Linked DNA regions of Homo sapiens: region 2 is linked to region 1. Evidence: promoter capture Hi-C in 16 types of primary human blood cells and fetal thymus (Javierre and others, 2016). All regions are on one chromosome and are shown on one strand. Each heading gives the region's core, a stretch centred on a gene start or on the middle of the fragment in contact. The rest is flanking DNA. Distances are from core to core; before and after follow the strand shown.

Region 1 (6,267 bases), core at 372-2,871:
TGCTTAGGTACCTGATGGATGAAGGGCAGTCCTTCCATCCCCAGCCCAACCTCACCTTGAAAGAGGTTTAACCAAGACAGGCCAAGTCACAAAGACTACCCATCCCCCGTCACCTTCAGCCCAAGTCACTTCTACAGCACCCAGCCTCTGCCTGAACACCTTGGTGAAGGTGGACAGGCCCTCTTGGGAAGGCCATGCTGGCGCCCCTGTGTCTTCACCTCCTGGAACCCCTGGAACCCTCCCTGGTTCAGCCTGGCCAGCTGTCTCCACACAAGGACTTGCAGCCTCTGTGGCATCCTGGTCCCTCCCAGTCTGTCTCCCACCCCACAGAGGGCCCTGCATGCACAGGGCACTACAAGGGGACTAACTCAGGCCTGTGGATACAGCTCTGAACTCAGACACCTGGAGGACCCAGGGTGGATGTAGGGGAGCTCCAGCCCCTTGGGAAGAGCCCCATACCACCTCCCTAAACTTGAAGGCCACCACCCACGCCTGCTCCACCTCAGCAGGTGTGGGACAGGTCTGTGAGCATCAGGATCCCTCTGGGATGGCCCCAGGACTCTCCCCTGCCAGTCCTGCCCTGTTGTCCCAGGGAGCTCTCCATAGGGCTCTGGAGCTGGCAGTCACAGGCCCCGCCCCCAGATGGAGATGAAGCCGGATCTCCGGGATGATGGGAGCAGGGTGCCCATCCAGGACTCCTGGCACTGCCATCCCGACCCACTGGGCACCTGATTCTTGGACACAGCCCAGGACAGAGGCGATCAGATCCCACAGCCTGGCTGGGAGCTGGTGTGGGCGCCCTGGAGGACCTCAGAAGCTCCAGGCCCAGGCATGGTCTGGGCACAGCAGGCCCACCTCTGCCTGCCCCCTCATGCCACCCCCTCCAGCTTTCAGGGCTGGCTGTCCAAGAACAGGCCCCCTCCCCGCCACACACACACACACACAAAACCTGGTTTTGGAGGTATTGCCCACCTTACAGGGAGGGGGTACATCTTGGGGTCCCTCAACTTCGGGTGGGAAGGCGGACCCGTGGCCTGCCCCGAGTGGGAAGGACACCCTGTTTCCGGGCGTTGGGTCGCCCCCCGCCCCCTCCCTTACCCCACGTGGCTTCGGAAAACCCCGTCCCGGTGAACTCCCCAATCTGGGAGTCGCGGCGTGCGGGCCACCTGTCCGGGAGCCGCCCCCAAACTCCTCCCACTGCCAGCGAGGCAGGGGCCCGCTCCCTGCGGAGATCCGGACACCCCGCGTCGGGGCGCGAGGCTGGGGGTGGGGTGGGTGGCGGGACCCGGGACCGGGAGGGGACAGCGGGACAGACTGTGGAGGGCGGGAAGGCGGGGCCCGGGACGCTGGACGCCGGCCCCGCTCGCCGCCAGGCCCCGGACGCGGCCGCCGCCACCTGTCGCGCTCGTGGGCTAGGGGCCCCGCCGGGCCTGGCGACGGAGAGGGGGTCCCCAGGGTGCCCTCGGCCCGCCCTCCCCGGGCTCACCAAGCACACGGCGCGCGCCACCACCTGCGGCTGCGTCAGGAAGCGCCGCAGGTCGAAGGAGCCGCCCGCCTTGGCCGCGCCGTAGGCCCCGCTCTCCATGTCGCCGTCGCCGCCGCTGCCGCCGCCGCGGAACGCAGAGGAACCTGCCCGGCGCCCCGCCCGACTCCACCCGCCGGGGGCGTGGCCAGGCGCCGCTAGGGACCGAGGGCAAAGTGCGGCCCTCGCGAGCGGCGGGCGAGCCGCGGGACTGCGCTTCTAGAGGCGGGGAGGGGCTGTGGCCGCGGAGCACCCGGGTCCACCCCACCTCGGGGTTGAGGGGCTAGTCTCCGGGCCACGCCGGCCGCAGCACGGACCAGAAAGGGTCAGAGAGTCCCCCGGGAAGACGGACGAACTGAGGACCGCTCACCCTCTTTGCCCCTGCCCTCCCACCGCCTCCTCTAGGAAGCCCACCACCTACCAAGAACCCACCCAGGCTCATAAGCAACCCCTCCCCCATCCCACTGAAAAACCCAGGCCACACCCTGGAGCCCCTCCCTGCCTGGCCTGCCACTCTTTCCTCCTCTCTGGGGCTAAGCCTGGGGTAGGGTCAAAGACCCCCTCCCCATTCCTCCTGGTCTGGGCAGAGCCCCAAGGCTGTGAAGGGCAGTGTGGCGTCACACTTAAGATGGTGTGCAAGGCCGGGAGCGGTGGCTCACACCTGTAATCCCAGCACTTTGGGAGGCCGAGGCGGTTGGATCACCTGAGGTCAGGAGTTCGAGACCAGCCTGACCAACATGGAGAAACCCCGTCTCTACTAAAAATACAAAAATTAGCCTGGTGTGGTGGTGCATGCCTGTAATCCCAGCTACTCGGGAGGCTGAGGCAGGAGAATCGCTTGAACCTGGGAGGTGGAGGTTGCGGTGAGCCGAGATTGTGCCATTGCACTCCAGCCTGGGCAACAAGAGCAAAACTCTGTGTCAAAAAAAAAAAAAAAAAAAAAAAAAAAGATGGTGTGCAAGGCCGGGCGCAGTGGCTCACACCTGTAATCCCAGCACTTTGGGAGGCCGAGGCGGTTGGATCACCTGAGGTCAGGAGTTTGAGACCAGCCTGGCCAACATGGTGAAACCCCGTCTCTACTAAAAATACAACAACAACAAAAAAATTAGCTGGGCGTTGTGGTAAGCGCCTGTAATCCCAGCTACTTGGGAGGCTGAGGCAGGATAATTGCTTGAAACCGGTAGGCAGAGGTGGCCGTGTGCTGAGATCGAGCCACTACACCCCAGCCTGGGCAACAGAGCAAGAGTCCATCTCAAAACAAACAAAACAAACAAACAAACAAACAAACAAACAAAACCAAAAACGAAAGTTAGCGAGGCGTGGTGGCAGCTACTAGCAGTCCCAGCTATTCCAGAGGCTGAGGTGGGAGAATTGTCTGAGCCCAGGAGGCGGAGTTTGCAGTGAACCAAGATCACGCCTTTGCACCCCAGCCTGGGTGACAGAGTAAGACCACATATCGGCCGGGCGTGGTGGCTCACGCCTGTAATTCCAGCACTTTGGGAGGCTGAAGCAGGCGGATCACGAGGTCAGGAGATCGAGAACACCCTGGCCAACATGGTGAAACCCCGTCTCCACTAAAAATACAAAAATTAGCTGGGCATGGTGGCGCGTGCCTGTAGTCCCAGCTACTTGGCAGGCTGAGGCAGGAGAATCGCTTGAACCCGGGAGGCGGAGGTTGCAGTGAGCCGAGATTGCACCATTGCGACAGAGCGAGACTCCATCTCAAAAAAAAAAAAAAAGAAAAGACCACATATAAAAAAATATATATATGGCATGCAAACAGAAATGAAGTTTTCAGGGCGACAGGCAGATGGCAAAGTTTAATCCAGTTCCAGTTCAGCCCCCTCTCGCCTCCGTCCCTCTCTACCTCCATCCCAAGAAAAACCGGTACAGAGGGTCTGGTGCAGGGTAGGCTGGGGCAGGCTCTGTGTGTGTTGGAGTGGGGAGCGGAGGTTGTACAGACAGAGGTGTGGGATCACAGGCTGACTGAACCCGGAAGAATTCCAGACCCCCCTTTGCTAGTTGCAGGTGCAGATTAACAACAGCAGGTGTGCCAGGTGGGGCTCACAGTCAACCCAGGTGAGCTGGACCACGTGAGAGTTGAACCATAGGACTGGGCCACCAGGAGGTGGGGTGCCTCTCCAGGGAAGAGGGGAGCAGGTGGGGGGGAGGGGCTGGGCCTTTTCGCAGTGTGCCCCCCTCCCTCTCCCTACACCCAGAGAGATGTGACAGCACCTGAGAGGCGAGGACAGGGCCACACAGACCCCCTTATTTCTGTGACCCTCCTGAAGCCCTCACACCAACAGTGTCTGTGTTTGCTGAAGGCCACCAGCACTCCAAGAATCCCAGCTGGCAGGCTTTTTTCTTTTTTTTAAATAAATGTTTTTGTGTATATTTAAGGTAGACAACCTGATATGATGGGATTCATATAGATAATATAGATAGCACAAAGGTTCCTATAGCGAAGCAAGTTAACATATCCACCATCTCTCATAGTTACCCTTTTTTTTTTTTTTTTTTTTTTGTGGCAAGAGCAGCTAAAACACACTCATTTTGCATGAACTCCAAATACGAACAGTGCACGCTGATGGCCTGCAGTCCTCTGCCGTGCTTGGCTCTCTGGACGGTTCATTCTACATGGCTGCTGCTTTGCGTCCTCTGACCTCCCCATTCCCTATCCTGAACCCCCCAAACTCCTCTTCACTCAGACGGCGGGTGCTCCTGTAGAGCGGCAAGGCAAGGATGGGGCTCTCCAGGGGACCCTGCCAGTCCTCCATCTTCTGGTCACCACCTTGACAAAGCAGTGGAGACTCAAGTCAGGCAGGCTCACCTCCCAGCCATCCCCTCCCGAGGCGTCTGAGAGTGTTCGTTTGTTTTGAGACGGAGTTTTGCTCTTTTTGTCCAGGCTGGAGTGCAATGGCACGATCTCGGCTCACTGCAACCTCCACCTCCTGGGTTCAAGTGATTCTCCTGCCTCAGTCTCCCGAGTAGCTGGGACTACAGGTGCGCACCACCACGCCCGGCTAATTTTGTATTTTTAGTAGAGACGGGGTTTCTTCATGTTGGCCAGGCTGGTCTCGAACTCCTGACCTCAGGTGATTCGCCTGCCTCAGCCTCCCAAAGTGCTGAGATTCCAGGCATGAGCCACTGTGCCCGGCCTGCCTCTGGGAGTTTTATGGTGCCAAGCACATCAGTGCCCCAGCAGAAGAGACATGAGGCTTACTCACCCCACTAAATGAAGGCTGTACCCCATTTTACAGAAGGAAAAACTGAGGCTCGGCGAGGTGACATGGCTCACCCACGAGTCTGGCTTCTGGAAAGAACAGACTTGGTAGAAGTGAGATGGGAAAGTGCCAAGGACAGACTCCTGGTAGAGCCACGTAAGGGCCTGGGCCACGGGCAGAGGATGAGAACCAGGACACGGCAGTGTCTCCCAAACAAAGAGAGATGAGTTCACAGAGGCAGGGCTGGCCACCACCAAAGCCAGACAGGCAGAGCACACAGGCCTGTGGTGCCTGCACTCAGACACTACAAAGGCCTTGGTCACTTTACATGTTAGTAAAGCCATGGCCTTGGAGAGGGGACCCTGGGAGGCTGGGCCCCAGGCTCTTGCCACCACCTCGGAAAGACTGCCCAAGGTGGTTCTCACAGAAGGCAGGAGCTCCTGGTCCACCTTGGTCTCCTGGAGGCATCATCCCTGCAATCCCTGCTCAGACCCCATAAAGAACTTAGGAGACTGCCCTCCCAGAGGCCAGCAGACTGTGTTACAGGGCACCTGGGAGCACTGGTCAGGGTCCGATAACGCCTTGAATGTGTAAGCCTCAGTAGGCACATGGCACACAGTAGGTCCTCATAAACACCTTCGAGTCATGCGTAAGCGGTGATGGCCGCTCTTTGCCCTGGCCACAGCCCTGCCCTGCAAGCCCCACCACCTGAGCTCTGCAGCCAGGGCCCGGTTGGACCTCTCAGGCCATCAGCAGCTCTCCCTCCTCCCTGCATCGAGCACCCATTTCCTACCTGGCCCACGTGGTCCAGCCCAGCATCCTGGAGGTGATGGCCGCAGTGGAGGCAAGGCTGCCAACCAGCACGATGGTGGGTGCCCTGGGCAACCCTCCTGGGAGGGGGCGGAGGCAGCTGGGTTGGGCTTCCTTTAGGCAGGGGCCAGGGTGGGCATGGTTGCCTCCTGTGCCCTCTCTGCTCTCAGCAGTGGCCGGGTAGAGCTGTCCCACTTCCCATCGACCTGTGTCTTGGACACTAGCACCCTCCCGGCACAGAAGCGCCAGCTGCCCCTCTGGAAATCCAAGGGCCCTCTCACCTGGGGGCACCACTGTGAGGGCGCTGTGCTGGACATTGGCGTTGTTTGCAGCCTGGCACCAGAACCAGTCCGATGTCTGGCTCGGCAGGAAGGAGAAGTTGGCAGGCTGCCTGTGGCATGGTCTCTGCTGCAGGTGGACCTGCCCATCCTTCCCGATCAGGCTGTTGGTGATAGGTGGGCTGCCCGAGGACGCCTGGCAGATCATCTCCACCCTGGGGCCTGCCCCTCTGTCCTGCAGAGTGAAGTTGGCCCGCAGCTCAGACACTGGCTCTGGCAGGGTGGGAGAAGGTAGCACAGGCATGGCTGAGCGGTTTTAAACCCCTCCTCCTCAGTAAGTTCTCCTCATTACAAAATGCCTAATGAGCTTAGCTGTGGCTGCCGCCTCCTCCAGGCCGCCTTCTAGAGTTTGCCCTCCACCTTGTGTCTGGGC
Region 2 (5,722 bases), core at 1,602-4,101, 840 kb after region 1:
CTGCACTCCAGCCTGGGTGACGGAGTGAGACCCCGTATCAAACAACAACAACAAAACATTTGCCAGAAGAACTAAAGCAGCCTGCCTGTGTCTAACAGGAACTTAAGAGCACAAGATGAACTCAACCAAAGGACACACACAGCAGGCATTTCACAGCTGACACCTGTTGGTGGAGGGAGATTAGGAAAGTGGGGAGAGGCAGTGCCTGGGCATGGGGACACCCTGGGCATGGGGACGCCCTGGATACAGGGACACACTGGGCACGGGGACACCCTGGGCACAGGACGCCCTGGGAACGGGGACACCCTGGGTACGGGGACACCCTGGGCATGGGGATGCTCTGGATACAGGGACACCCTGGGCACGGGGAAACCCTGGGCATGGGGATGCCCTGGATACAGGGACACACTAGGCACGGGGACACCCTGGGCATGGGGATGCCCTGGATACAGGGACACACTGGGCACGGGGAAACTCTGAGCATCGGGATGCCCTAGGCACGGGGACGCCTCCTGCCACCTGAAACCCCGCAGCCCCATCACACCCGTCTGTTCCAGCAAATCGGTCCAAAGAGCATTTTCAAGCTTTCATGGCAAAGTTTCAGAGCCAGTGCCTCTTCGCTGATTTCGAGGGTGTGTTGTTTATTCAGTGTTCAAGTCAGAGTTTCCCCATTTAGAAAAAAAAAGAGGAGGGTGGCTCCACGGATGGAGGTATGAGGGCGTCCACAGGCAGAGGGAGTCTCCGGGCTGAGATCTGCGCCACTCTCTGTCCCAATTTCAAGGCGTAGCCTGGAGCCCAAATCAGTCTCCAAACGTGGGCCGCTGGTTAAGAGGAATCTCCCCACCCACGATCCCCTCCCATACCCAGCCCCCACTGCCCAGAGCATGCCAGCCTTGCCTGCCCTGGCCTTCAGGACCCCCTCAGGGACCCTCAGGCTCCAAGTCAGGGTGGGCTTGAACCAAGGCAGCCCCAGAATCTATGCCAATGCCCTTGCCAGTGGGAGACCCTGGGGAGCACCGTGCGGGATGCATGGGGCCAGGCGGGGGCACACAGCGAGCGGCTTCAGAAGCTCTGGCCGTTCGGAGTGGGGGGGTGCCCAGAGCAAGAGACGGGCCAGGAAGCTGGAGTGAGCAAGGAGGCCTCAGCCCCTGGTGGGAGCAGGCCGGGTAAAAATAAACTAACCTGAGGGCAGCAGCCAGCGAGACCACTACAGGAGGGGTGGTGGGGCCGGAGGGGTCCCAGGAGCCCAGGAGAGGGAGGCATTGCCAGAGGTAAGGTCGGCAGATGAGAGCCAGTGCTGGTAGGATTAACTTGCTACAGCAGCTATGGTTTATTCTTTTTTTTTTCTTTTACACATGTTCCTGGGGCTCATGGAATTTACTAGTTTATTATAAAGGATATTACAAAGGATACAGGGGAAGAGATGTGTAGGGCAAGGTATGGGGGAGGGACGCAGAGCTTCCATGTGCTCCCCAGGCGCTCCACCCTCCAGGAGCCTCCACATGCTCATCCATCCAGAAGCTCCCGGAACCCCATCCTTCTGAGTGTTCACGGAGGCCTCATTACGAAGGCATGATTGATTCAATCATTGGCCGCTGATGATCTGCTTAACCTTCAGCCCCTCTCCCCTACCTGGAGGTTGCGGGGTGGTGCTGAACCTTGTGATTCTACCTGGTCTTCCCTGGGAACCATCCTGAAGCTGCCAGCTGGTCTGTCAATCATGAGCATCCAAAAAGACATCACTTTGGAGATTCCAAGGATTTTAGGAGTTGTGTGCCAGGAAATGGAGATGAAAACCAAGTGTATATTTCACAACATGACAGTCAGTCTCTTTCAACCCCAGTCTTACTTCCTGCCGTGCTGCCGGCCTCAGCCCCCCGCGCCCCAGGGCCTTTGAACACATTGCCGGTTGCCTGCAGCGATCGCCTCTGCCTGCTGGGTTTGAGCCTGGTTTACTCCCCTCATCCTTCTGCGCTCAGCCCGAAGGTGTCCCCCCGAGGCAGCCCTCCTGACCTGGTCCTACGAACCGCAGGTTCTGTCCTGCCACTGGTCCCCTTTGTCACACCTGTCACTTCCTGTGTTTCACGTTTACTGATGTGGTCTTGCACTTGTGCAGTCCCATGAGGGCAAGGACTGTGTCTGGCTTTGTCCTCCACGGGACCCCAGCGCCAAGTCCACAGGGAGCACCCAATGCTGAATGAATGAATGAGTGACCGGCAAGGGAGGTTTATTTTGTCATGTTGGGGGTCAAAGGTTGCTGGGCGGACCACATGGGTGAGGTTGGGTGGGGAGGGAAGCAGAGATGACCCCTTGGAAGAAGGGGTAGGAGGCGGGGAGGTGGGTGTGGGGTGCTGTATAAGGATGGCAAGTGCTTCCAGGGGTGACAAGCCAACCTAGAGCACCAGGCAGCAGAAAAAGGCTGACACCCTCACGCCCCACTTCCACTTAGGGAGAGGCCAGGCCTCCGGGAAAGCCAGCTCCCCGTTGCTAGGAGAGCCCCAAGGGAAGCTTCATCAGCTGCTGAGTTGGTCACAGTGGAAACCCATGTGGTGGGTGGGAGGGGTTTGAGGCACAGGGGTTTGGGTGGTGGCTTCAGGATGGAGACTTGTGTCCAGATCATGAGGGGTGGCCCCAGGGATGACCACCTCCAAACAGGAAGCAGACAAAGGCACAGATGGCAGAAGCGGAGGCAGAGAATGGGCTGCAGGGGCTTCCCCAGAGGGAGAGCCGAGCAAGGGGACAGGCTGGAAACACTCAGCCTCCATGGCCTGAAGCACAGACAGCTGGTCTCACACGCAGGCCGGGCAGCCACACCACCTAGAACAAGGGGCATGTCCGCAGGGCAGGCCTCAGGACGCCCCGGGCTGGCCCTGCCATCAGCCTAGAAAGACGGCCCAGGCTTTCCCGGTAGGGAGCACGTCCAGCCAGGTCCTGGGCAGGAGCTGAGACTCCCTGGCTGGCCTGAGAGGGGATGATCGAGTGCAGGCCCAGCCCGGGACTTCCCCACTCCTCCCCGCCACCCAGCGGAACCAGCTGGGCGTGAGAAAAGAAGAGAAGTGAATCAAGAGCCCAGAGCATGAGGCTGGACCAGCCCTTACACCACATGCAAAAATCAACTCAACTTGCATCAAAGACCTAAACTCAAGAGCTAAAACCACAAAACTCTTAGAAGAAAACACAGGGGAAAAGCTTCCTGACGTTGCATTTGGCAATGATTTCTTGGATATGGCGCCAAAAGCACAGGCAACAGAAGAACAAATAGATAAAGTGGAACGTCATAGAAGTTTAAAATATTTGCATATCAGCCTGGGTGCGGTGACTCACGCCTGTAACTCCGGCACTTTGGGAGGCCGAGACGGGTGGATTACTTGAGGTCAGGAGTTCGAGACCAACTTAGTCAACACAGTGAAACCCCGTCTCTACTAAAAATACAAAAATTAGCTGGGTGTGGTGGCGGGTGCCTGTAATCCCAACTACTCAGGAGGCTGAGGCAGGAAAATCGCTGGAACCAGGGAGGCGGAGGTTGCAGTGAGCCAAGATCATGCCACTGCACTCCAGCCTGGGCAACAGAGTCAGACTCCATCTCAAAAAAAAAAAAAAAAATTGCATATCAAAGGGCACTAACAACGTGGGGAGAAGGCAATCCATGGAATGGCAGCAAATCATAGGTCAGATATGGGATTAGTATCTGGATATTAATCTACAGATCTCCTAACACTCAGCAACAACAATCATCCAAATCAAACACAGGTAAAGGACTTGGACAGACATTTCTGCAAGAATATGTGCAAATGAGCAATAAACACGAAAAGATGCTCAACATCACTAACCACTGGGGAATTGCAAATCAAAACCACAAGGAGAGACCCCTCACAACCATGAGCTCTGGGCAGGTAGGAAGACGCCTGGTGGGGAGTTGCCGGCTCCATGCTGTCCCCAGAATTCCTGCAGGGGCTAAGCCCGACCCCGACACCTCACCAGGAGCACAGAAACGAGTGGAAAAGGCCAAAGGCCACCCCAAAGGGCCAGAGGGGTCCAGCAAGGAGTCTGGGACATGGAACCATGCTGTGCATCCAGACACACGGGGACAACAGGGGGATGAAAGGTGGCCCCTAAAATTTACATCCACCCCAGAGCCTATGAACATGGCCTATTTGGAAAAAGGGTCTTTGCAGACGTTATGAAGTTAAGGATCTTGAGATGGGACCATTTTGGGTTACCCAGTGGGCCCTAAATCCGAGAAAGACTGTCCGTATGAGAGACAGACAGGGGGAGATTTAGGGCACAGAAGGAGGCCCCGTGACAACGGAGGCAGAGGTCGAGTGGTGTGGCCACGAGCCAAGGAACGCCAAGGGTTTCGGGAGCCGCCAGAAGCTGCCAGAGGCGAGAAGCAGGCTCCCCCTCGGAGCCTCCGGAAAGAACCAGGCCTGCTGATGCCGTGATTTCGGACTTCTGGCCTCCAGAACGGCGAGAGAAGAAATGTCTGGTGTTTTGAGCCACCCAGTTTGTGGCACTTGGTGATGGCAGCCCCAGGAAACCACTACAGGGACCAGAGTTCCCACGGGGCTGGGCAGGAAGCGGGTGCAGAGCGCGTCAGGCCAGGCCTCTCACCTCGGAGATGGAAAAGCAGAGCTGGAGAGGTTGAGACCGGACAGGCACCGAGCGTCCAGGGGTAAGAACTCCCAGGGGATGGCAGAGGCCATCGGGGACAGCACAGCGAGGGACAGGAGGGAGGGGTGAGGGCTGAGGCACCGCCCTCCAGGAGGCCTCGGTTCCCCGCCCACTGATGACCCAGGAACCCCGTAAGAGGAGCTGGGCTTTACCCTGTGCCGTACTGCATCAGATGGACCCTGGTGGGGACAGACGTCCAGCGACAGCGTGGCCAAGCCCCCTCCAGGACCCCGGGCCTGCATTCATGACCATGCACAGACGGCCACTTCCCCTGCCTGCAGCCCTCCCTCGTGGCCTGTTCCTAGCCTCCCAGCCCAACAGAGCTCCCCAGTGGAAAGTTCCCTTCTTGGAGACTCTCTCCCTGCTGAAATACAAGCTCTTGGAACAAGATAAAACTGCTTAATTTGTAAAAGCCACAAAGCCGTTCCAGAACAAAAAAAAAGCTCCGACCCTTGGCTGGAAGGAGTGGCCTTCCATGCCTCAGCGGCCAGTCACCACTCCATGACTCATGCCGGCCCTGCTGACAAACCCTCCAGCACCTTCCCAGGGGAAGGCCACAGCCCCCAGGGAGGGCGGGAGAGTACCCAGGCCCCCGTTCACAAACCAGACCGGAGCCAGACACTGCCGAGGGAGGGACAAGAGGGCAGGTCTTGGGGCTCCTAAGCCTTCCCTGGGGCTGGCAGACCACCGTGGACTCACCAGGGTAGGACCACCCCCTCCCACAAACCCTTCCTGGGCAGCTGTAGGGCAGCCTGAGCTGGACACGCCTCACACGCCAGCCCAGTGGGGCATGAGGCACCCACAGCCACGTCTGGAAGTCAGCGGGCCGGCATCTGCCGGGCAGGCCTCTGTCACACAGGCACAGCGTCCTCCCCATGGCTCCTCCTCAGGCCAGAGCATGCTTGGGGATCAGAGCAGCTCTCGCAGTGGCTTGCAGCCTGACAACGCGGCGTGAGCCATGCCCTGCAGAGAAGAAGAGCCCCTCAGTGAGGGAAGAGGCGCCCACAAAACTCAGGACACGCGCAGAAACCCGCAGGAGGTGGGGGCGCTG

The links. The method cuts DNA at HindIII sites, captures the fragments that hold promoters and counts their contacts. A CHiCAGO score of 5 or more calls a contact.
Region 2: a contact is called between a fragment that was not itself captured here and the fragment with the promoter of SYNGR2 in region 1, in 2 of 17 cell types (naive B cells and total B cells). The highest score is 5.5, in naive B cells.

What each region holds. Positions count from the first base shown.
Region 1 is chr17:78,163,935-78,170,201 of GRCh38, reverse strand. SYNGR2 (synaptogyrin 2) reads right to left here and starts at 1,621. Exons shown (of 4, transcript NM_004710.7): 1 at 1,487-1,621. The coding sequence starts at 1,585. It overlaps C17orf99 (chromosome 17 open reading frame 99), which reads right to left. Exons shown (of 5, transcript NM_001163075.2): 4 at 5,838-6,107; 5 at 3,905-4,313. The coding sequence ends at 4,156. RefSeq lists silencers at 1,159-1,318, 1,349-1,958 and an enhancer at 5,641-6,141. The HindIII fragment of the contact is 20,994 bases long and covers 1-6,267 here.
Region 2 is chr17:77,322,701-77,328,422 of GRCh38, reverse strand. The region is part of intron 2 of SEPTIN9 (septin 9); the gene reads right to left. Among named protein-coding and RNA genes, the nearest start is that of SEPTIN9-DT, 44 kb to the right of the region's middle. RefSeq lists enhancers at 1,580-2,498, 2,690-2,999, 3,110-3,379 and a silencer at 4,666-4,839. The HindIII fragment of the contact is 681 bases long and covers 2,511-3,191 here.